Regions from separate parts of the Homo sapiens genome. Here all the other regions are linked to region 1. Evidence: promoter capture Hi-C in human tissues and cell types (Jung and others, 2019). All regions are on one chromosome and are shown on one strand. Each heading gives the region's core, a stretch centred on a gene start or on the middle of the fragment in contact. The rest is flanking DNA. Distances are from core to core; before and after follow the strand shown. Region 1 holds the start of SHISA9 (shisa family member 9). Region 2 has its middle 330 kb from the start of ERCC4. Region 3 has its middle 370 kb from the start of ERCC4. Region 4 has its middle 420 kb from the start of ERCC4. Region 5 has its middle 440 kb from the start of ERCC4. Region 6 has its middle 500 kb from the start of ERCC4.

The links. The method cuts DNA at HindIII sites, captures the fragments that hold promoters and counts their contacts. A contact is called where the count stands out against the background at its distance.
Region 2: a fragment that was not itself captured here is called in contact with the fragment with the promoter of SHISA9 in region 1 in 2 of the 25 tissues and cell types used here (lymphoblastoid cells and mesendoderm cells).
Region 3: a fragment that was not itself captured here is called in contact with the fragment with the promoter of SHISA9 in region 1 in 4 of the 25 tissues and cell types used here (dorsolateral prefrontal cortex, lymphoblastoid cells, mesendoderm cells and 1 more).
Region 4: a contact is called between a fragment that was not itself captured here and the fragment with the promoter of SHISA9 in region 1, in 4 of the 25 tissues and cell types used here (H1 embryonic stem cells, dorsolateral prefrontal cortex, lymphoblastoid cells and 1 more).
Region 5: a contact is called between a fragment that was not itself captured here and the fragment with the promoter of SHISA9 in region 1, in 3 of the 25 tissues and cell types used here (hippocampus, lymphoblastoid cells and mesendoderm cells).
Region 6: a fragment that was not itself captured here is called in contact with the fragment with the promoter of SHISA9 in region 1 in 2 of the 25 tissues and cell types used here (lymphoblastoid cells and mesendoderm cells).

The regions. Positions count from the first base shown.
Region 1 is chr16:12,899,831-12,903,172 of GRCh38, reverse strand. SHISA9 (shisa family member 9) reads right to left here and starts at 1,575. Exons shown (of 5, transcript NM_001145204.3): 1 at 546-1,575. The coding sequence starts at 1,108. The HindIII fragment of the contact is 6,671 bases long and covers 1-3,342 here.
Region 2 is chr16:13,585,332-13,588,673 of GRCh38, reverse strand. No RefSeq gene overlaps it. Among named protein-coding and RNA genes, the nearest start is that of ERCC4, 330 kb to the left of the region's middle. The HindIII fragment of the contact is 4,832 bases long and covers 1-3,342 here.
Region 3 is chr16:13,543,732-13,547,073 of GRCh38, reverse strand. It overlaps a transcript of SHISA9 not described here. Among named protein-coding and RNA genes, the nearest start is that of ERCC4, 370 kb to the left of the region's middle. The HindIII fragment of the contact is 6,455 bases long and covers 1-3,342 here.
Region 4 is chr16:13,500,153-13,503,494 of GRCh38, reverse strand. It overlaps a transcript of SHISA9 not described here. Among named protein-coding and RNA genes, the nearest start is that of ERCC4, 420 kb to the left of the region's middle. The HindIII fragment of the contact is 5,047 bases long and covers 1-3,342 here.
Region 5 is chr16:13,481,704-13,485,045 of GRCh38, reverse strand. It overlaps a transcript of SHISA9 not described here. Among named protein-coding and RNA genes, the nearest start is that of ERCC4, 440 kb to the left of the region's middle. The HindIII fragment of the contact is 4,909 bases long and covers 1-3,342 here.
Region 6 is chr16:13,415,088-13,418,429 of GRCh38, reverse strand. It overlaps a transcript of SHISA9 not described here. Among named protein-coding and RNA genes, the nearest start is that of ERCC4, 500 kb to the left of the region's middle. The HindIII fragment of the contact is 3,656 bases long and covers 1-3,342 here.

The DNA of each region.
Region 1 (3,342 bases), core at 326-2,825:
TGTTCTCGCCCTCCCCTCACTCCACCTCCCTCGTCTCCTTTTCGCGAGTCGTACGAGTTGCAGGCGGCACTCACTCTGACCCTCCCTCCTTCACACACGCGCGCTCGGGCTCACACACGCCCCCCTCCCCTTTCGGGCTCGCCTGCCCCTGTTTACCAAAAAGCTAGCACCTGGAATCCGAGGGGTGCCATGGACCCTCTCCCCAAACCCGAAGATTTCGGGGCCACGGGCTCCCAGGCTACGTGTCTCAAGTCCGCCTCAGTCACCAGCGGGAGGAGGCGGCCAGAGGGTGAGGGAGCAGAGTCACACACACACACACACACGCTCACACACACACGAACACGCTCAGACCCACACCTGTGCTGAGCCCAGCGCCCCTTCTCCGTGTTCCAAGCCGAAGTTGGCTTCCCGGTGACATCCCCCAGCGGAGAGGCTGGGATGCGGGGAGCGGGGACCGTGGGGAGCGCCATTGCCTGGGGGAAGGTGGGGAGGAGAGAGCAGGGAGAGCGAAGCCCCGAGGGGAGGGCGAAGGGGAGGCAGCCCACCTGGACATGTGCTCCCTTTGGGGCCGGTGCGCTTTCTCCAGCCCCAGCTTGGTGAAGATGCCCACGAGCACCATGACGGCCACCACCCCGCAGATGATGTAGACGATCAGGTTGGTCTTGTCCTTGGTGGGGTCGTGCAAGGGGTCGTCCTTGCGGGCGGGGGGCTTGCCGGTGTTGAGCCAGAGCGGCGTGTCGTAGTTGGTGCAGGTGCTTTGGTTCAGTCGCCGCTTCTTAAACGTGCAGCAGAACCGGAAGCCACAAGTCCCGCAGCAGAAGATGAAGTCGCCCGAGCTGCAGTTGAACGGCGGGTCCCACTGGCCCATGACATCGAAGTAGCCCCGGCAGAAGTCCGGCGTGGGCGCCCGGGTCGGGGGCGCGTCCGATGCCTCAGCGCCCTCGCTGGCCTCTCCGGAGGCGGCCCCGGAGCGGTTGCCCCCCGCCAGCAGCAACACGCCGCCCAGTTGCGCCAGCTGCCCGTGTCCCGCTCGCTCCTGCGCCCGGCACACGCGGGCGCACAGCTCGGTGAGGAAGCAACCGAGGAGCAGCCGAAGGACGCGGCGCATGGTGTCTCCCAGCCCGGGCTCGGCCGCTCGGCCGCCGCTGGAGCCTCTGCGGCCGCCTCTCGAGGCGCGGCCGAAGCTGCCGAGGCTGCTGCCGGGAGCTGCGAGCCGCCGCGGGCCGCACATGCAGGGAGCGGCGCGGGGCGCTCGGTGGTCGGCGGCCACTGCGCTCGGCTCAGCCCGCGTTCGCCTCAGCCCGCGTTCGCCTCCAGCGCGCCGCGCGCCGAGGGGCCGGCCGGGGAGGAGCGCGCCCGGCCGGGCGGGGGGAGGATGAGCGGGGTCAAGCGCGGGGTGCAGGTCCGGCCGGCCACTGGGTGAGGCGGGGGTGGAGAGCAGAGGAGAATCGGGCTGGCAGCGCCTAGCCTTGGCCGGCAGCCCCGGACTGGCCGCCCCTAGCCCTCTCGCAGTATCCCTCTCACCTCACCAGCTCGCCAAGTGCGCTGAAGAGAGCGAAGCGACACTTGTGGAATGAAGGGAGGGCAGGAGGGAAGGGGGAGGGGGAGGAGGGCGGGCAGAGGAGGCGCGGGTGGGGGGGGGCGGGCGCGAGCTCTAGAGGGGCGGGGGCGCGGGGAAGAGGTGACTAGAGCGGGAGCTAGCTGGGGGGCGTGCAGAGCTGAGCCAGGCGAGCGGACGGGGAGGAGCGAGCTCGGCAGCAGCCGAGGCTAGAGGAGCCGCTCGGATTTCCAGGCAGGTGGAAAACCGCGGCAGGACCTCCCGCGCCCTCTCTGGGTAGGAGGCGCGGCTCAGCCCTGTCCAGAGCGCAGAGGCGGCTCAGCTCGTAGCTTTTTCACCGGTGCGTGTGCAGGAGCGGCGGCCGAAATCTGTGCATCAGGGGAAGGATGACTCGGAGAGGATGGGGACAGACTAAATGGCTTTCACTCCAAGACAGACTGGGTGCAGTCTGGTCAGGATCGCCCCTCCCAGGCGTGCGGGGCCTCCTTGCCCTTCCCGGCTGCGCCCTCCAGCCCTGAGCGCAACCCGCATGGCTCAACTCTCTGGGCCCAAGCAAGGACCCAGGCGGAGCTGGGAAGGACAGGTGGCAAGCCCCTGAGCCAGGGATAAGCACCCTCCGGGGGAGAGGGGCTCGGGATGAACGAATCAAAGAAGGTCGGGGGTAAGAGGGGACAGCCGAACAAGGCCGAGGCTATGGCGTGTCCTGGAAGGTCTTTCCTTGGAAGTCCCCCAGCCTCTCGAACCTGCCGCTTTCTGTCCCTCTTCGCCCCCGCAGCGTTTTCTGCGCTCCACAGGAGGGAACACCGCGGCGCCGCCTCTGCGCTCCCGGATCTGGCGCAGCGCAAGGCCTGGGCACCCAGCCTCAGCCACCCTCCCGGACCTGGAGCCCGCGCATCGGTCTCTGGAGCTGGCTGGCCCCTGTCCCCACGGATCCCCCCGGAAATCCTCACCGGGGGCTGCAGAGCTCTGCCTTGCTTCCTCAGCTTCCAGCCTCCCGTCTCCTCTGTGTTTCCAAATCTGCCCTCTCTCTCCTAGCGAATTCCAGCTCCCCGGAGGCCCTCTCTCATTTCTCCCACCTCTTTCTCTCCTCTGCTTGAATTTGACTCCAGTAGCCCCAAAACAGGATTTGCACCAAAGCTGCTACACCAAATTTAGATCTCCCCACGCCCCGGCGTTTTGTTTTTTAATTGCATTAACTAAGTATACACTTTGCAGGCTGCTAGGCGATTTGCAAGGAGATAATGTTTCCACAACCCTCCTCTCCACTTGGCTGCAGTCAAGGGCTTCTCAGGGCATCTTCAGAGAACGAAAAGTTGGGCGACATGTAAAATGGTTTACTAGGGTCCCCTGAATTGAGAAAGGGTGGGAGGATTTATTGGGACTCTGTTGCAAGTTTTCTCCAAATGAGAAGTTTGGCTAATCGCCCCTTCTCTTTGAAAAAAAAAGTCACATTTTGATGTTTCAAAAAAGATTTGCAAACACACAGCAAGACATTGACAGGGCATACCCAGGAGTATTATATTCCAAACCCATCTGGGGAAGGTATGAACACGTTTAATCCAGATTCACCAGATTCATTATAATAGAATCCCCAAAATAGGAGAGTATGGAAAGTCTGTCATGACTGGCAACCCACGCCCACCACCACCTTGTGAGTCCTACAAACACAAGCACTGGTGTGTGAGAGCTAATGAGAGCTGACATTTATTCAGTGCCTGCAACATACTCACTAAGCTTGCTTTTTCTAAAAGCAGCTCCTCAAGAAAGCTTAGAGCAGTGCCCAG
Region 2 (3,342 bases), core at 425-2,924, 690 kb before region 1:
TGAGATTTGGAGGTTGGTTGATACATATTAAAACATGACTAATATTTAGAGTTCACTACTGGTCTTTTTAGGTATATGATCCAATAAGTTCTCCATATTACTTTAATCAATTTGATTTGGATTTCTCTCATTTATTAACTGAAAGAGTTTTCTCTATTGGTGTCTTTTTATGGCATTGTATTGCTTTTGGCTCGCACAAGCCTCCAACACATCCCAGGTCTTTCTCATGGGAACCACAGCCAAGCCAGATCTTCTCCATTCTCTACTTGAGCAATTGATTTTTAAAAAGGTAATATTTATCCTGGTTAATGCTCATCTTTTGGCTTGTGCCCAATGTTTCAGTCTAGTGAGATCTTTCTGAATTAGATTCCTTCATTTTGAATATTAGCTGTTCCATTCCGAATTTTGTCAAATACAGATTGGATCAGCATGACCACTAGAGCCTCCACCAAGCCCTTAATTGATATAATGATCCTGTGGCATCACACTAAAGACTCACTTCCAGGCTGACCCCCAAGAACACAAATTATCATTACTCAGGCAGATGTTCTAGATGAAGGCCCACAAGACAAATATCTTTCAGTCCACGTTTTGCCATCATAATGATCTCAGATAAATCAAGAGATATTATAAAGGAGTGGCCTGAAGCTAACTATGTCCTAATAATGTTTTCTAAATTTTTCAGCAAAGGGGCAATCCACTTTTCAAGTCAGTAGGAGGGAATTAGTATCTGTCCTGCCAAAAACAAACAAACAAAAGACAAGACACCTGCCCAGTTCTTGAGTTCTAGGTCTGCACATAATGTCAACCATTGACCTTAAGTGAGTCACTTACAGATCTCCTCCAGATCTGTAAAGACTTCTTCAAACCCAAAGAGAAAGGCAGTTGTAAGCTTTTATTCCATGCACCTTTGCTTCCTAGATTGATTCTGCACATTTTAAAAACTGGGGGAACAAACTTCATATCAAAATTTCTGTAATACACTCATTAACCTATGGATTATTTCATTGCATTGCAATTTTCTATTCAGTTGTATATTTGCTCTACTTGTCCCTGGGCTTTTTGAGAGCAAGGATTAAGTTGATGTTGTCATCAAAACACCTGACATTGTTTCTGACACATAGTAGGTACTCAGTACGTATTTGTTTGGTTGAATTAATAGAACTCATTCTGAAGCCATGGTATGTGTGTGTGTGTGTGTGTGTGTTTATGTGTGTGTGTTTTGTTGGAACAGCTAGTTCATCATTAGCCTGAAGCATTGGCTAATGTTAAATTTAAATTAAAATATGCTCTTGGGTGACTACATCTTCAATTTCATGGTTGATTCCTTTGTGATTGACTTGTTAAACTAAACAAGGAGTTGCAAACTAAAATACCTGGAGGGGCCAGGAAGGAAACAGAATAAATAAGTATGGCTAGGCAAAACTGGAAAATACTCAGCAGTTTCTCAGGAATGGATACTCTGCATTGCTAGATCTACTTTTTCAGAATTAAAAAAAATATATGATTTTAAAATGTGCTTTTAAAAATGTAAATATTCATGATTTTTAGATTTTTGTTTAGAGTTTTGAAACTCTGAAACATAATTTGTAAAACAGTATGTGGGCCAAATAAAATATACTCAGGCTAGATCCAACTCACAGGCCATCAATGCAAGAAAGAGAGCTCAATTTGTCACACGCAAAATGATATTTTAGTTTCCAATGAACATTTAATTTACAATGAACAACCTTGAGTAATATGAAATACCATGTTTATTGTTGAACAGTACAAGCTTAATTACATGGCTAGAGCAAGACTCTGTCTCAAAAACAAAACAGAACAAAACAAAAAACCTGAATGTAAGTATGGTGCAAAATTGAGGTGCCCTGGAAGTATTTGGGAAAAGTGCTATGGGAGCCAGAGAAAGAGGGATGAGCTTCTTCTTGGACAGTCAAATAAGGCCTTACAGGGGATGTGCCTTTGGGGCTTTGGATGATGACTTAGTATTCCCCAGAGAGGAAAGAAGGGAGGGACATTCCCAGCCCATAAAAGTGGGCGAAGGTTATGCACCTTTTGCATATGTGCTTTCCTCTGCTTGGCATGTCCTTTATCCTAAGTAAAATAACTCAGAAACAGCAAATCAAATACTACATGTTCTGACTTATAAGGGGAAGCTAAATAATGAGTACACATGGATACAAAGATGAAAATAACAGACACTGAGGACTCCAAAAGTGGGGAGGGTGGGAGTTGGCAAGGGTTGAAAAATTACCTACTGGGCACAATGTGTACTATTTGTGTGATGGTTTCAATAGAAATCCAAACCTCACCATTATGCAGTATACCCACGTAACAAACCTGCACTTGTACACCCATCAATCTAAAATAAAAATAAAATAATATAAAATTAAAATAAAATATAAGAACAAAATAAAATAATCTAAAATAAAAAATAAAATAGAAAATTAACAAAAGGTGCATAAATATGACAGAGAGTAGTATGTTTGAAATAGGGTAAGGTTAGAAGTGTTGGAGTGGCAGGTACATTGGGGAGAGAGTCAGGGAATTGGGAATAAGATGGGGACCTAGATTAAAGCTCAATTTGGAAACTTGCTAGGATAAAGAAATGGACCTCATTAACTGAGTGGCAGAGAATCCCAGAAAGCTACTAAGGGTGACATGGTCAGATCTGGGCTTCAGAGAAACCACATGGACATTGGTGGAGGCAGGAGAGGCAGGTGTGTATGCTCTTTCCTCTGCCTGCAATGTCCTTAGTGAAATAACTCACAAATAGCACATCAAATACTGCATGTTCTCTCTTATAAGTGGAAGCTAAACAAGGGACACCCGTGGACACAAAGACAGAAATAATAGACCCTGGGGGCTCCAAAAGTGGGAGAGTAGGAGTTGGTGAGGGTTGAAAAATTACCTACTGGGTACAATGTAAACTATTTTGGTAAAGGGTTCAATGGAAGCCCAAACCTCATCATTATGCAATATACATAAATGACATCGTCTTTGGGATCAGGCTTCCCTGGGCTGGGATCTCACCTCCACCATTGACCAGCATGTGGAACTTTGGGTGAGCCATTTCCTTTCCCTAAGCCCTGCTTCCTCCTCTGCAAGGTGAATATGATAATCCCATGTACCCCACTGATTTATTGTGAGGATTAAATAAATTAATCCATGTGATGTGATTAGAGTATCAGGATGTAGTTGAAGCTCAATCAATAACTATTCTTTCTAGAGTGCACGGGGGTAGAAAGTGGCTTAAGATTGAAGGCAGGATGCCAATTTTTATATATTTATTTAAGACAGAGTCTCACTCTGTTGCCCAGGCTGGGATGCAGTGGTATGACC
Region 3 (3,342 bases), core at 494-2,993, 640 kb before region 1:
ATAATGATATCTCCGAAGTATTCAAGGTAAGATATCAGTGGTTAAGAGTCAGCCATGTAAAGATAGAAGAGATGAATGTTGGCCCAGGGTGAGGATGAGCTTTATGGAGGGCAGTGTGGCTGTAGCACAGCAGGAAATTGGAGAGTTGCATGGATGAGCCAGACACAGGAGCCAGATGATATACCACAGGGGTCAGCAAATTCTTCCAGTAAACGGCCTGATAGCAAATATTTTAGGCTTAACAGACCGTATGGTTTCTTTTTCAACTACTCAAATCTTCTATTGACAGAGAAAGCAGCCATGAACATGTAAAAATGGGTGAATATGGTTTTGTGCCAATAAAACTGTCTTTACAAAAACAGGAATTGGGCTGGATTTGGCCCACAGGTCAGTTTGCAGACCTCTGATGTAGGGCTTCATAGGCAGTAGAAAGGACTTTTACTAATCTTCAGGGCATCAGGAAATCTTATAATCTGATTCACGTTGTTATCCATTTAGCTACTTTACGTCTTTCAATTGGAGAATTTAGTCTGTATACATTTAATGTTACTATTGATAGGTAATGACTTACTACTGATGAGAATACTGCACTCAGCAAAGCTTTTCTTCTTCAAATATGAGAGATAAATTCTTTCCCAGACAAACACAAGCTGAGGGAATTCATCACCCTTACACTTGCCTTCCAAGAAATGCTAATGGGAATTCTTCAGTATGAAATAAGATGATACTAACATGCAAAACTGATTTGCATTTTTAAAAATTGTCACTCTGTAGGCTGAGGAAAATGAAATGGAAGGGTGGGAAGAAGCAGGGAGAACAATAATCTTCTTTTCTGGGTAAGAGATGGTGGTTGCTTGGACTAAAGTTGTAGCACTGAGGAATTTTGTAGAAAGTTGGACAGGGTTGCACATTTCTAACTCCTTTTTCTGATTACTGATTTCCTTTCTTATAGGACAAAGACATCTCCAAAGACAAGTCTGGCTCTAGGCAAGAGGGCTGAATTAGTGAGCCTAGTGTTCTCTGGGCCCCCTTCCTACATTGTTAATTCAGGTGCCATCCACACGACAGGCAAGATGGTCACTGGCAGCCCCAAATTTACGTCCTACCAGTTTGGCAAGAAATCATCCCTCTCTCAAATCCAAATTAAAAGTCCCAGGAAGGAATCTAACTGGCCCAGCTTATGTCACATGTTTCTCCCTGAACCAATCATTGTGGCCCATTGAATGAGCTGCTCTGATTGGCCAGACTTTACACCGTGTGATAGTAGAAGCGGATCGGGACCGGTGTGGTGCCATCATGGAGAGTTCTGATACAAAAGAAGAGGGAGAGGATCCTGAGCAGGTCAGAACTCCAGATGTCCATGTGACAGGCCATGGCGTGAGAGAAGATTCATCTTTGCTAAGCTGCTGGCTCCTGCCAGGGGACGCAACAGGTGGAATGTTCAGGAAGAGAGAGGGAACTATTTCACAAGCAGCAAGACCTCAAGCAGAAGCAATGTTTGAAACAATGGCTGCTTCCAAGACCAGCCTTTCCCATGCTCAGGGGTGGAGGGGCTATTCAACCAATTGCCTGTGTCTGTTGCCAGGGGCAACAGCCAAATCCATAGACTCCCTTGTAGGAAGCCCCCACTTGTTTTAGCTCACTGGCTCAAAGACATATGTGTCCCTCCACTCATCTCTCCTTGATCATCCATGCAGGATTCTTATTTAATTGGATGCTGGCATTTCCGTCTGCTTTTTTTGATCTTGTTTAAAGGGAAACTTATCCTGGTTCTTAACAATCAGACCATTTGGTGAAACTGGCAGTGCTGTGGATTCAAAAAGACCTTGAATAGAATTCTAGCTGTACCACTTCACCAGTGTGCGATCTTGGACAAATTATTCGGCTTCTTTGGATCTTTCTTTTCTCAATGGTAAAAACTGGGTAGGTGTCATCTGTATTACAGCATTATTGTGAGGATGAAGTTGGAAAGTACATGCAAGGCACATGGCATAAGATTTGATATTTGCTAGGCCTTTAACAAATAGTGGTTCTGATGTTATTGTGATGATGAGGAAAATAAGGATGATGATCATGATGTCACCAGATCAATGCTAAACTGTTGACACTATCAGTCTTCTATTGTTTTTTTTTGACGGAGTCTCACTCTGTCACCCAGGCTGCAGTGCAGTGGCATGATCTCAGGACACTGCAACCTCCACCTCCTGCATTTAAGTGATTCTCCTGCCTCAGCCTCCTGAGTAGCTGGGATTACAGGCTCGCCCCACCACGCCCAGCGAATTTTTGTATTTTTAGTAAAGACAGGGTTTCACCATGTTGGCCAGGCTGGTCTCGAGCTCCTGACCTCAAGTGATCTGCCCACCTCGGCCTCCCAAAGTGCTGGGATTACAGGTGTGAGACACTGCACCTGGCCCAGTCTTCTATTCTACAAGGCTCCAAACTCACACCTAAAAAGGTGGTTGCTCCAAAATTTATGTGTTCCTTTTGCTTAGCAATTGGTGAGGGAAATCCCAGCCAGGATAGTAATTTATCAGCCAAGGTTGCTTCTGGCTTCTCAGCTGTGCAATCTCCCTGAAAACTTCAAGAGTCATGTCCGTGCAAAGTGGAAATACAACATCCAGCGGGGAAAAAAAAAAAAAAAAAACAAGAAAAAAAAAAACCCGAAAAAACAAAAAACCGAAAAACTAAGAGCAAGAGCTTTGGAGTCTGTCAGAATGGGGTTCAAATTCTGGTTGTACCATGAATTAACTGGTACTTTACCCTTCTGAGGCTAAGGTTTCCTTATCTATAAGATATATAGATAAAGATACATATATTATATATAATATATCTAGATATATAGATAAGATATATAGTATTATGTATATTTAATACTGCCTCATGCTATTGATTGAGTTAAATAAGATAATATTCTTAGTCAGGTAGTAAGTACTTAGCAGATACTCAAAGAGGTGTTAAGTGTTAAGCCAGAATTTGCAATGGAGACTGCCTCCCTCTAAATGTCATACCCTTTACACTTAACACTTTCATGTCCATGGGGTTGCTACTTCCTCCCTGTAAAATTTTAGGCACGTGACTTCCCCTTCTGGGTTTCTATTTGTTCAGCTGCACAAGGAGCCAGAACATTTTAAGCCTAGCCCTGCAATTCTCTGAGCAAGAGTTACCCAGAAAAAGAGGTAGATATTTGAATAATGTTTCATCTTTAATCTGGAGGGCTTTCTAGGTGACTGTCAGGGAGCATTTTCAGGGGTGTAGACGCCATGGATGCCTTTGGGAAGGAAGGGTCGATGCTACTCAGAGGCGAGCATTATCTGTGGGCTCTGCAGCAGCATTTGGGAGGCA
Region 4 (3,342 bases), core at 449-2,948, 600 kb before region 1:
ACATTACAACTCCATCCAATATCCAGGTGAATGCATCAGCATGACAGAGCCCAGGTAATGCTAACAAAAGAACCACCTAAGCAATTCATAGAATCATGAAAAAATAATAAATTATTATTGTTTTAAGCCCTTAAGCTTTGGTGTGATCTGTTACTCAGCAATAGATAACCAAAACAAAATCCAAGAGCTTATCATGGACTTTAAGACCCTGCATGATCTGAGCACTGTCTATATCGCTATACTAGTGTCATGCCATTTTCCATATTACTCACTATGCTCCCAGCAAACTAGGCTCCTTAGAGATTCTTAAACACATCAACCTTTTCCTGATTCAAGACTTTTGCTTTATCATTCCAACTACCTGAGACATTATTTTCTTTATTCTTAGCATGGCAGGTTTTTATTCATCCTTCTGGCTTAAATATCCTTCCCTTTGAGAACTGCCATGTCGTCCCTGTTAAGTCAGCCACCAAACTGTGTTTTTTAATTTATCACTATATTCTGATTGTTTTATTACTACCACTGTTATAATTTGCAATTGCATATTTCTCTGTTGACTCATTATCTGTCTTTCCCAGTAGATTTATTTTATTTTATTTTTTATTTACTTATTTTTTTCGAGACAGGTCTCACTCTGTCACCCAGGCTGGAGTGTGGTGGCGTGATCTTAGCTCACTACAACCTCTGCCTTCTGGGTTCAAGCAATTCTTGTGTCTCAGCCTCCCGAGTAGCTGGGATTACAGGTGCATGCCACCACGCCTGGCTAATTGTTTTGTATTTTTAGTAGAGATGGGGTTTCACCATGTTGGCCAGGCTGGTCTCGAGCTTTTGACCTCAAATGATCCATCTGCCTCGGCCTCCCAAAGTGTTGGGATTACAGGTGTGAGCCACCGCGCCCGGCCTGTCTTTCCTAATGCATTTTAAATACCGCAATGGTAAAGACCAGGTCTGCCTTTTTAAACAATGGATATTTTGTATCTAGTACTGTGCCCAGACGCATGGTAGGTATACAATAAATATATTTGTTGAATAAATAAATGATTGGTATGCCATGCATTCCAGCCTCTGTTAATAGGTTGCCTTAAAGTTATTCTAGTGCTGTATCTCTGCCTTCCTAGGTGAAGGCTACGTCTGGCACGTGGACATTTTCCTCCCTTTGCACATTAGACAGATGTTAGTGTGGGATCCTGCATGATATGTACTCAGCCAGAACTTGTAAAATGCAGATATCATGGGTGTGAATCATCTTGATTCCTTTCTTTTTCTCCAAATGCTTGCTTTGGTTTATTTTGTAGGTGGGAATCTGACAGCTATGTAGGCAATCTTTACAAATATGACCTAAAAATATTATACTCTCTGATATACAAAGTATTTTAAAATATATTCCTTTATTTCATCCACCCATTCATTTATCTATATATCCATCCTTCCATCCTTCCATTCATCCATCTGTTCATTTATTTGTTCATTCTTTCAGCAATTTTTTTTTTTTTGATACGGAGTTTCGCTTTGTTGCCCAGGCTGCAGTGCAATGGTGCGATCTCGGCTCACTGCAACCTCCACCTCCTGGGTTCAAGTGATTCTCCTGCCTCAGCCTCCAGAATAGCTGGGATTACAAGCATGTGCCACCATGCCCAGCTAATTTTTGTATTTTTAGTAGAGACGGGGTTTCACCACATTGGTCAGGCTGGTCTCCAACTCCTGACCTCAGGTGATCCACCCTCCTCGCCTCCCAAAGTGCTGGGATTATAGGCTTGAGCCACCGTGCCCGCCCTCTTTCAGCAAATATTTATTGAGCCTCTTTTATGTGCCGGGCACCATTCTAGGCACAAGCATACAATAGTAAATAAAGCAGATGTGGTTCTGTCCCTAATGAAGATTACTGATGTGTGGCCGGCCATGAAAAGACAAACAAAAATGTTAAAAGTATGTAATTACAAATGGAGAATATTGCTGTAAAATTGGTGAAGAGGGTGCTGTCATATGTACTGACATGCTCATGCTTGCCATGAATATATCACACCTCTTTCTGGCTTAAATGCCTTTCAAAGACCCTCCCACTGCCCTTGGCATAAAGTTTATCTTTCTTATACTCCTTTCATGGCTCCATCCTCCCTTTTTCTCTCTTTCCTAAATGACTTTTGTAGTTTCTGTTTTCACACATATGTTCACCTCTAGATCAGAGTTTTTCAACCTCAGGACTAAGTAATTCTTTGTCGTAGGGGGTGTCCTGAGTATTGTAGAATGTTTGCAGTCTCCTTTCCTCTTCCCACTAGATGCCAGTTGCACTTCCCCCTACCCTCAATTTGTGACAAGCAAAAATGTCTGCAGAAATTCCCAAATGTTTCCTGGGAGGCAAATGCACCCTTGGTTGAAAACTACAGTTCTAGGTTAAGAGTATGGGGTTTGGCATTGGGAAGGTTATCCTGTCCTTGTTGAGCACTCTCTACTGTCAATGAAAGTGCACCCGTCCTCCAGCCAAGGGGTGGCTGCGTGACTGACATTAGGCTCCTATAGTGCTCCCTCTCTGGAATTTATTCTTGGGTAAAACATTGGATTGAAAACAGGTGATCCATCCTCCTGCAACTTCCAGAGGAATTTAGTTACCTAAAGCTTCCTGAAACTGCACATTGGGAGTTCTAGTTCATATGTCTTGGTGCTTCTTAGAGCTGCCCTATATTAATCCAATAAGCTTCCTTTCTCCCTTAGTTAGTTAGAGTCAGTTTCTATGATTTATGGCCAAAGAATAACTAACTGGTACATCCTCCTACATGGTTTACAATTATTTAAGACACCAGTAGTTACATAATCCCTGTCTTTTTGTCTCTGGTCTCTCTCTCCCCCAACCCCCTGCCCCTCCTTCTCTCCCTCTCCCTCTGCCTCCCCCCACACTCCACTCTGTCTTTTTCCTTCTCTCTCTATTTCTCTTTCTCTCACTTCCATTGCTGTGCCTGGAAAATCCTACCATTCACCTGGCCCATCATCCTACAAGACCCAGATTAACTGCTATTTCCTTCCATTAATACTGCAGAAACTTTACGCTGGTTCTTCTATATTCCCCATGGGGCTGTGTACATTCCTCGAGAGCAGCACTGTTTTAGTCCTTTCTCACACTGCTATGAAGACATACCTGAGACTGGGTAATTTATAAAGGAAAGAGGTTAAATTGACTTACAGTTCCATATGCCTGGGAAGGCTTCAGGAAACTTAAAATCATGGCGGAAGGTGAAGGGAAAGCAAGCTTGGACCGTCTCACATGGCGGCAAGAGAGAGAAAAGTGAGCAGCAAAGGGGGAAGAGCCTCTTGTAAAACCATCAGCTCTTGTTAGAACTCACTCACTAT
Region 5 (3,342 bases), core at 413-2,912, 580 kb before region 1:
AGTTAAAAAAAAAAAAGAACAAGAGGCTTAGTGTTGTTACTGCAGCATCACTTGACTGATACACATACCATGCAGGAGCTTACTGATATGGTCTGCCTCTGTGTCCCTGCCCAAATCTCATGTCGAATTATAGGCCCCAGTGTTGGAGGAGAAACCTGGTGGGAGGTGATTGGATCATGGGAGTGGACGTCCCCCTTGCTGCTGTTCTTGTGATAGCAGGTGAGTTCTCCGGAGATCTGGTTGTTTAAAAGTGTATAGCAACTCTTCCCCACGCTTCCTGCTCATCCAGCCATGTAAGAGCTGTCTCCTTCCTCTTCACCTTCCACCATGATTGTAAGTTTTCTGAGGCCTCCCCAACCATGCTTCCTGTACAACCTGCCACACTGTGAGCCAATTAAATCTCTTTTCTTTATAAATTACCCAGTCTCAGGTAGTTTTTTACAGCAATGTGAGAACGGACTAATACACTTACTATACAGCCAGAGAGGCAACATTCACCAATTAACAACTGCTAATTTCTGAGGGCTGGCTGGAAGCATGCTAGGCACTCAGATTTGGCTGTGAGTTGGAGCTACTTGAGAGGAAGAGGAGGAAGACCACCAGTTATGCATGTGAAGTCCATGTCCTGTACTGGTGCTGTAGAGGCACACATCTCATTGAGCTCTTATGCCCATTGTGCTGATGTGGGAACCGAGGCTCGGAGAGGTGAAGTTACAATTGTACAAGGGGTGAAAAAAATTATAAAAGCTATACAATTTCCAAAGCTTTTATCACACTTGTTTCGGAAAAACTCTCAAACTATGTTTCTCCTCTAGTCTCACACTACCACAACAACAATCATCAACATGGAAGGCTTCTGTGACCAAATATATGGGTTTTTTTCCTCCACACGCCAAGCAGGGAATACCAGCTGGGTGTCCTCTAATTTGATTCTTACACTATCTGCCTGGAGATAGCATCAGATGCCACTGATTGACGGCTCAGTTACCAAGACTGCCCCCTCACCCCTACCCCAGACACCAGTCGTGAGCCCAGGCCTCTGAAATTTCTGACTGGCTTCAAACTGGGGTTCCCAAGAATCCCTCCTTGAATCTAACTAATTTACTGGAGCATCTCACAGAACTCAGGGAAATGCATTTATCAGTTTATTGTAAAAGATATTGCAAAGGATCCAAATGAAGAGATGTGTAGGGTGAGGTATGGGAGAAGGGACACAGAGCTTCCATGCTCTCCCTGGGGACCACCCTTCAGAAACCTCTACATGTTCAGTTATCCAGAAGATCTCTGGACCCAGTTCTCTTGTGTTTTTAGGGAAGATTCATGACCTCAACATTCCTTTCGCCAGGATATAAAGCAGGACTCTCTCTGGGGATGGGTGGTCTTAAGACCCACAATCAGAAAGACCGGGGAAGGATTAGAGGGAGAGGAGGGCTGGGGAAAGTCAGCGAGCTTCTGTTTCCTGAGGCCTGGCACACCTGACATTCTAATAAAAGACTGGAAAAAGGCTATGGAAGCTATGAGCCATGGATTGTGGTCAAAATCCAGTAAAATATATATATCAAAACACCACAACCCTGAATGAAGCTCATTTGTGACCCGTTCTCTGCTCCCTTGTATGTTTTTAAACTTAGAAAAAGTTCTCAGAATAAAGCTAGGCAGCAAATATTTTGTTTCCTTCCAATTTCTGTAAAGTGTTCGGATCCACTCTGACCTTGGGGGTGCATGCCAGTATCTCTGAGTCATGAAACCATCCCTTAAAAAATGAAAAACTGCAACCAATCCAGCCCTAAATGATTCATGGTGCCCAACATACATATTTATAGGCTACATCCAAGAGTGAAATCCACTTGAGGCTCTCTTGTTCACACCCCCACGCATCTGCAAGCCTGTATCAGGCACTTGGAAAAAGCAAAGACCCTGACACTTTATTCACCCACATGTGTCTGTGATGGGGTTTGAACTCTCTGTGAACCACCACCACCCCTCAGAGCCAAACTCTAAGTGCCCATCTGTGGAAGCGGAGGTCTGAAATGAGAATTCTGCTCTTGGCTCCCAGTAAACATTGCTCCAGTTAGTTTTTCTCCGAGTTACATCTCAGCCTTGGGGCACCAGCCACACTCTCACCTTAAATATCACAGAAGGGAAGCATTAGCAGTAGAGTTAGACAGATCTAGGTTGGAGGATCTGCTCCTACTGACTCGGTGACCTTGGACACGTCTCTCTCTCTCTTTTTTTTTTTTTTTTAGTGACAGGATCTTGCTCTGTTGCCAAGGCTGGAATGCAGTGGCATGAAAAGGGCTCATTGCAGCCTTGACTTCCTGGGCACAAGTGGTTCTCCTGCCTCAGCCTTCTGAGTAGCTGGGACTACAGGCATGTGCCACCACGCCAAGCTAAATTTTTTACTTTTCTGTAGAGATGGGGTCTTGCCATGTTGCTCAGGCTGGTCTTGAACTCCTGGGCTCCAGTGATCCTCCTGCCTCAGCCTCCCAAAGTGCTAGGATTACAGGCATGAGCCACCACACCTGGCCTCGAAGTGTCTCTTAATCTCTTTAAGACTTAGTGTCCTCTCTTTAAAATGGAGCTATTAATGACATAACTGTTGTTATGAGAAAAGGGTGACAGGATTTAAGGAAACCCACATGGCATGGTGAATACCGCTGGGGTAATAACAGAAGGCAGCTGATACGTCTCTAAGCCTGCAAGGGCAAGAGGAAGAGGTGGTTACTGGCATCCAGAAAAGGTAATTGTATGGAGAAGGCTGCAAGACAGGCACTGTGGTCTTCAGTAGATACAGTTAAATCACCCATGGTGACTTGGCAGGGAAACAGCCAACAGACTAAATAGCCGGACTGCATTTTACCCTCTTCTCTGACTTCTGCTGATGCCTCCCAATGGTTGAATCCATCTAGAAGCTGGAGAGCAAGAGGACCTAGTCAGTCTCTACAGGTTAGCATTCCAGCACCAGGGCAGGGATGGAAAAAGCACAGATGCGGATCTGGAAGGGCCAGTGGAAGACATTCAGCTCAAGTACCCAATGGAGGAAGGAATGCATGTAAAGAGTGCTGTGTCAGTGGTTGGCATGTAATAAGTGTTCAGAAAACATTGGCCCTGATTATTCAATCAAAGTATGTATGAGTTCTCTTAATGAGATCTCTCTTAATGAGATATCTACCATCTTGTGATTCATTTCCACTTCAATTTTGAAATTCAATTTCATAGAAATTTGGGGGAAAGATAGCTTCCATTTTCAGTGTTATTTGCTTTGCAGATTTGCAGATCCTCATCACTGTGGCAATGACCTCTGACACCTTTGACCTTCCCTCCCAGAGAAGGCATTCACTC
Region 6 (3,342 bases), core at 506-3,005, 520 kb before region 1:
CATGGTGAAGAATGGAGGCGCCAGATATACAGCCCCAGGTGAGCCATTCCAACCATCTCCAGCCTTCATTACCCTAGACATTGTGGAACATGGACATGGGCTTTCAAATTCCTGATCCATAGAATCATAGGCATATTAAAATGCCATTCTTTCATGCCACTAAGTTTGGGGCTGTTTTGATACTTAGCAATAAACAATTGGAGCACCTCTTTTTTTTTTTCTTCAAAGATCCTGCTAATAAATACATGTAGGTCAACCACTGTACTGACAAACCTGAGATGCCTACACAAGTCATATTCTCAGAGATAAACATAATCTAGCTTCTTTCAGGCTAGGCCTCCCCTCCAAAACATGACAGGTGTCTGTTGAATGAAGGAGCAAAGGAAGTAATAAAGGAAGGATTTAAAGAAGAAAAGGAGGGAAGAAGAAAATAGGCTCATGGTTTCAACCAAGAAAATGTGAGATGGGGTTTAGGTAGGGTATCATTGGCATAAACCTTCCCAAGAGATTTCAAAAAGTTCCACCAGCTTCACCACACCAAAGCTTCAAGCATCCTCTGTTTGATGCCAGCATTCGAGCATGTTGATAGGGTCACCACCATGCCCTTCTTCTCTGCCCGTTGGCATTAACCTGCCCATTGTCTCCACTTAGGGAAGCTACAGTGAGCTGTTCCTTGAGCAGGGATAGATCTCATCATCCAGGCACAGGCTGTCTTTGCAGACGATATCTGCTGAGGTAGCCTCCAATGGTGGGGTCTGCCCAATGTGTGTGATTCCCACTACGATGACATTCAGTCAAGCCACTTCTGCTTTAGGAATGAGGGATCCAGTGGTGTTCAGCAGTTTGCAAGACACTGACAGTGAAGACTTGAAGAAAGAAGTGAGTACACTGTAATGAAAACTCAATAGCTAACAAGAGAGAGGAAGCAAATAAACTGAGCAAATATCTGGTTCCCAGCCTTGCTTCTCACTCTGCCCATTTCTTGGCTCCAACCCAGTTCTCCCTTCTCCTTTAGTGGACAGATTCAGTCTCTGCTTATTTTTTTTTTTCCAACTCAAAACATCCCAAATAACGCAAGTGACAAAAAGAGAAAGTTGGCTTCCATTTTCACTATCAAGTGCCTCCACTTCTAAATTCCCTCGAGTGACAAAACATATCATAAAATATGAAACATATCACCTTTCCTTTTGCGGGTGCCAACCACCCTTCAACACATCATCATGAATCCCGTGCTGATGTTAATAGTCCTCTAACTTCCTGAGAACGACTGCATCAATCCACGTCTTCTCCAGTTGCCATGCAGTGATATAAGCAGCAATTCATCCAAAAGGTGCCTTCGGCAAGCAGGAAGTTATAGCCCTTGTGATTTTCTGTGTGGCTCCTTAAATTGTTATAAACAGACTTTCTCCATCTCAGTGAACACTGAGTTTTTATTTAAACATTTTGTTTTCTTCCAGAGGTAATTTTAAGAAATTTATTCAAATTTCTTAGGTTTTATTATTTCTTCCTTTTTCTTTCTCTGCCTTTCTTTCTTTCTTGCTCTTCCTTCTTCCTTCATTTCCCTCCCTCCCTTCTTCCCTCTCTTTCTTTCTTTCTCTTCCTTCCTTCATTCCTTCCCTTCCTTCCTTCCTTCCTTCCCTTCCTTCCTTCCTTCCCTTCCTTCCTTCCTTCCTTCCTTCCTTCCTTTCTTTCTTTCTTTCTTCCTTTCTTTCTCTTTCTTCTTTTTCAGAGACAAGGTCACCCAGGCTGGAGTGCAGTGGTGTTACCATCGCTCAGTGCAGCCTCGAACTCCTGGATTCAAGCAATCCTCCTGCCTTAGCTTCTCAAGTAGCTAGGACTACAGGTGGGCCCCATTGTGCCTGGCTAACCAATTTCTTGGGTTTCTAAGTGGTTTCCACAGGAATAAACTTGTGAATCTAAGTACCCTTGGGTGTCTCACATCCTCCCAGTGTTGGAGAACTGGTGTCATATGATGGTTAAAATGACATATGATGGTTAAACTGGAGGTGGGCTGCTCCTGTTTGAATATGTACTCTAGTGCTTATGTGTTATATGGTCAGGGGTAAGATAATTAAGATTTTGAGCCTTGTTTCCCTTCTAAGAATGGGGTAACAATTGTGTATACTTTGTGATGTTGAAGGAATTAAATTAATTACTGCATAAACTTACCAGGTTCTAAGTAAGCCAATGGTAAATGTCACCTACTACTGTTATCATTTATAACTCTTTCTATAAGCCTTCAGCTAGCTTGTTTCTTAACTTTGTGTGAATTTTATTTTTTACTTTTTGAGGTTTTTTTTCATGTAGAATATACCTACAGAACGGTGCATAGGTTATGAGTATAGCTTGGTGAATTTTCACAAACCAATCACAGTCATATATCCTGGCCCAGAACAAGTAAAAGAGCATCACCAATGCCACGAAAGCACCTCACTTATCTCCTGTTCTAGTCACTACTTCCCAAGGGTAACTGCTATTCTGACATCTAACACCAAAGATTAGTTTTTACCTGTTTTTGAATTTCATATAAATATAATCTTCCAGTATGTACTCTTTTTTTCGTTTCATACAATATTTACTCTTGTAAGCAAATCAAAGTGACTTTTTTTTTTTTAACGAAAGAAGGTTAGGTTACTGGATTTTCAATTAAATCAAATCTTTAGATTTGTATATTAGTGAAATAATTCAGTAAAATAATCATATCCATAGCTATCCAAATCTTTCTGGATAATCCATTCTGTTTTCTAGATATTAGCACAATCTTAGGCTCATAAACAGAGCTCCACATCATTTCATTCCTTTTTGTCATGTGATTTAGGTTTTATTTTATTCGTATTTAACCTTTAAGTTCAGGAGTATGTGTGCAGGTTGGTTATATAGGTAAACTTATGTAATGGGAGTTTGTTGTACAGATTATTTCATCACCCAGGTATTAAGTCTAATACCCCTATTACTTATTTTTCCTGATCTTCTCCCTCCTCCCACCTTCCTCCCTCCAATAAGGCCCAGTGTGTGCTGTTCCCCTCCATGTGTCCATGTGTTCTCATCATTTAGCTCCCACTTAAAAGTGAGAACATGTGGTATTTGGTTTTTTGTCCCTGTGTTAGTTTGCTAAGGATCATGGCCTCCAGCTCCATCCATGTTTCTGCAAAGCACACGATATTCTTTTTTATAGCTGCATAGTATTCCACGGTGTATATGTACCACATTTTCTTCATCCAGTGTTAAATCAAGTTTAGCCTAAAGCTGCCTCCTTACATATTTAAGTTCAGCCTAAAGGTTTTTCTGTACATCATGAACTATAACAAGTGGAGGTGTAAATCGATTGTAGCCCATACCTGT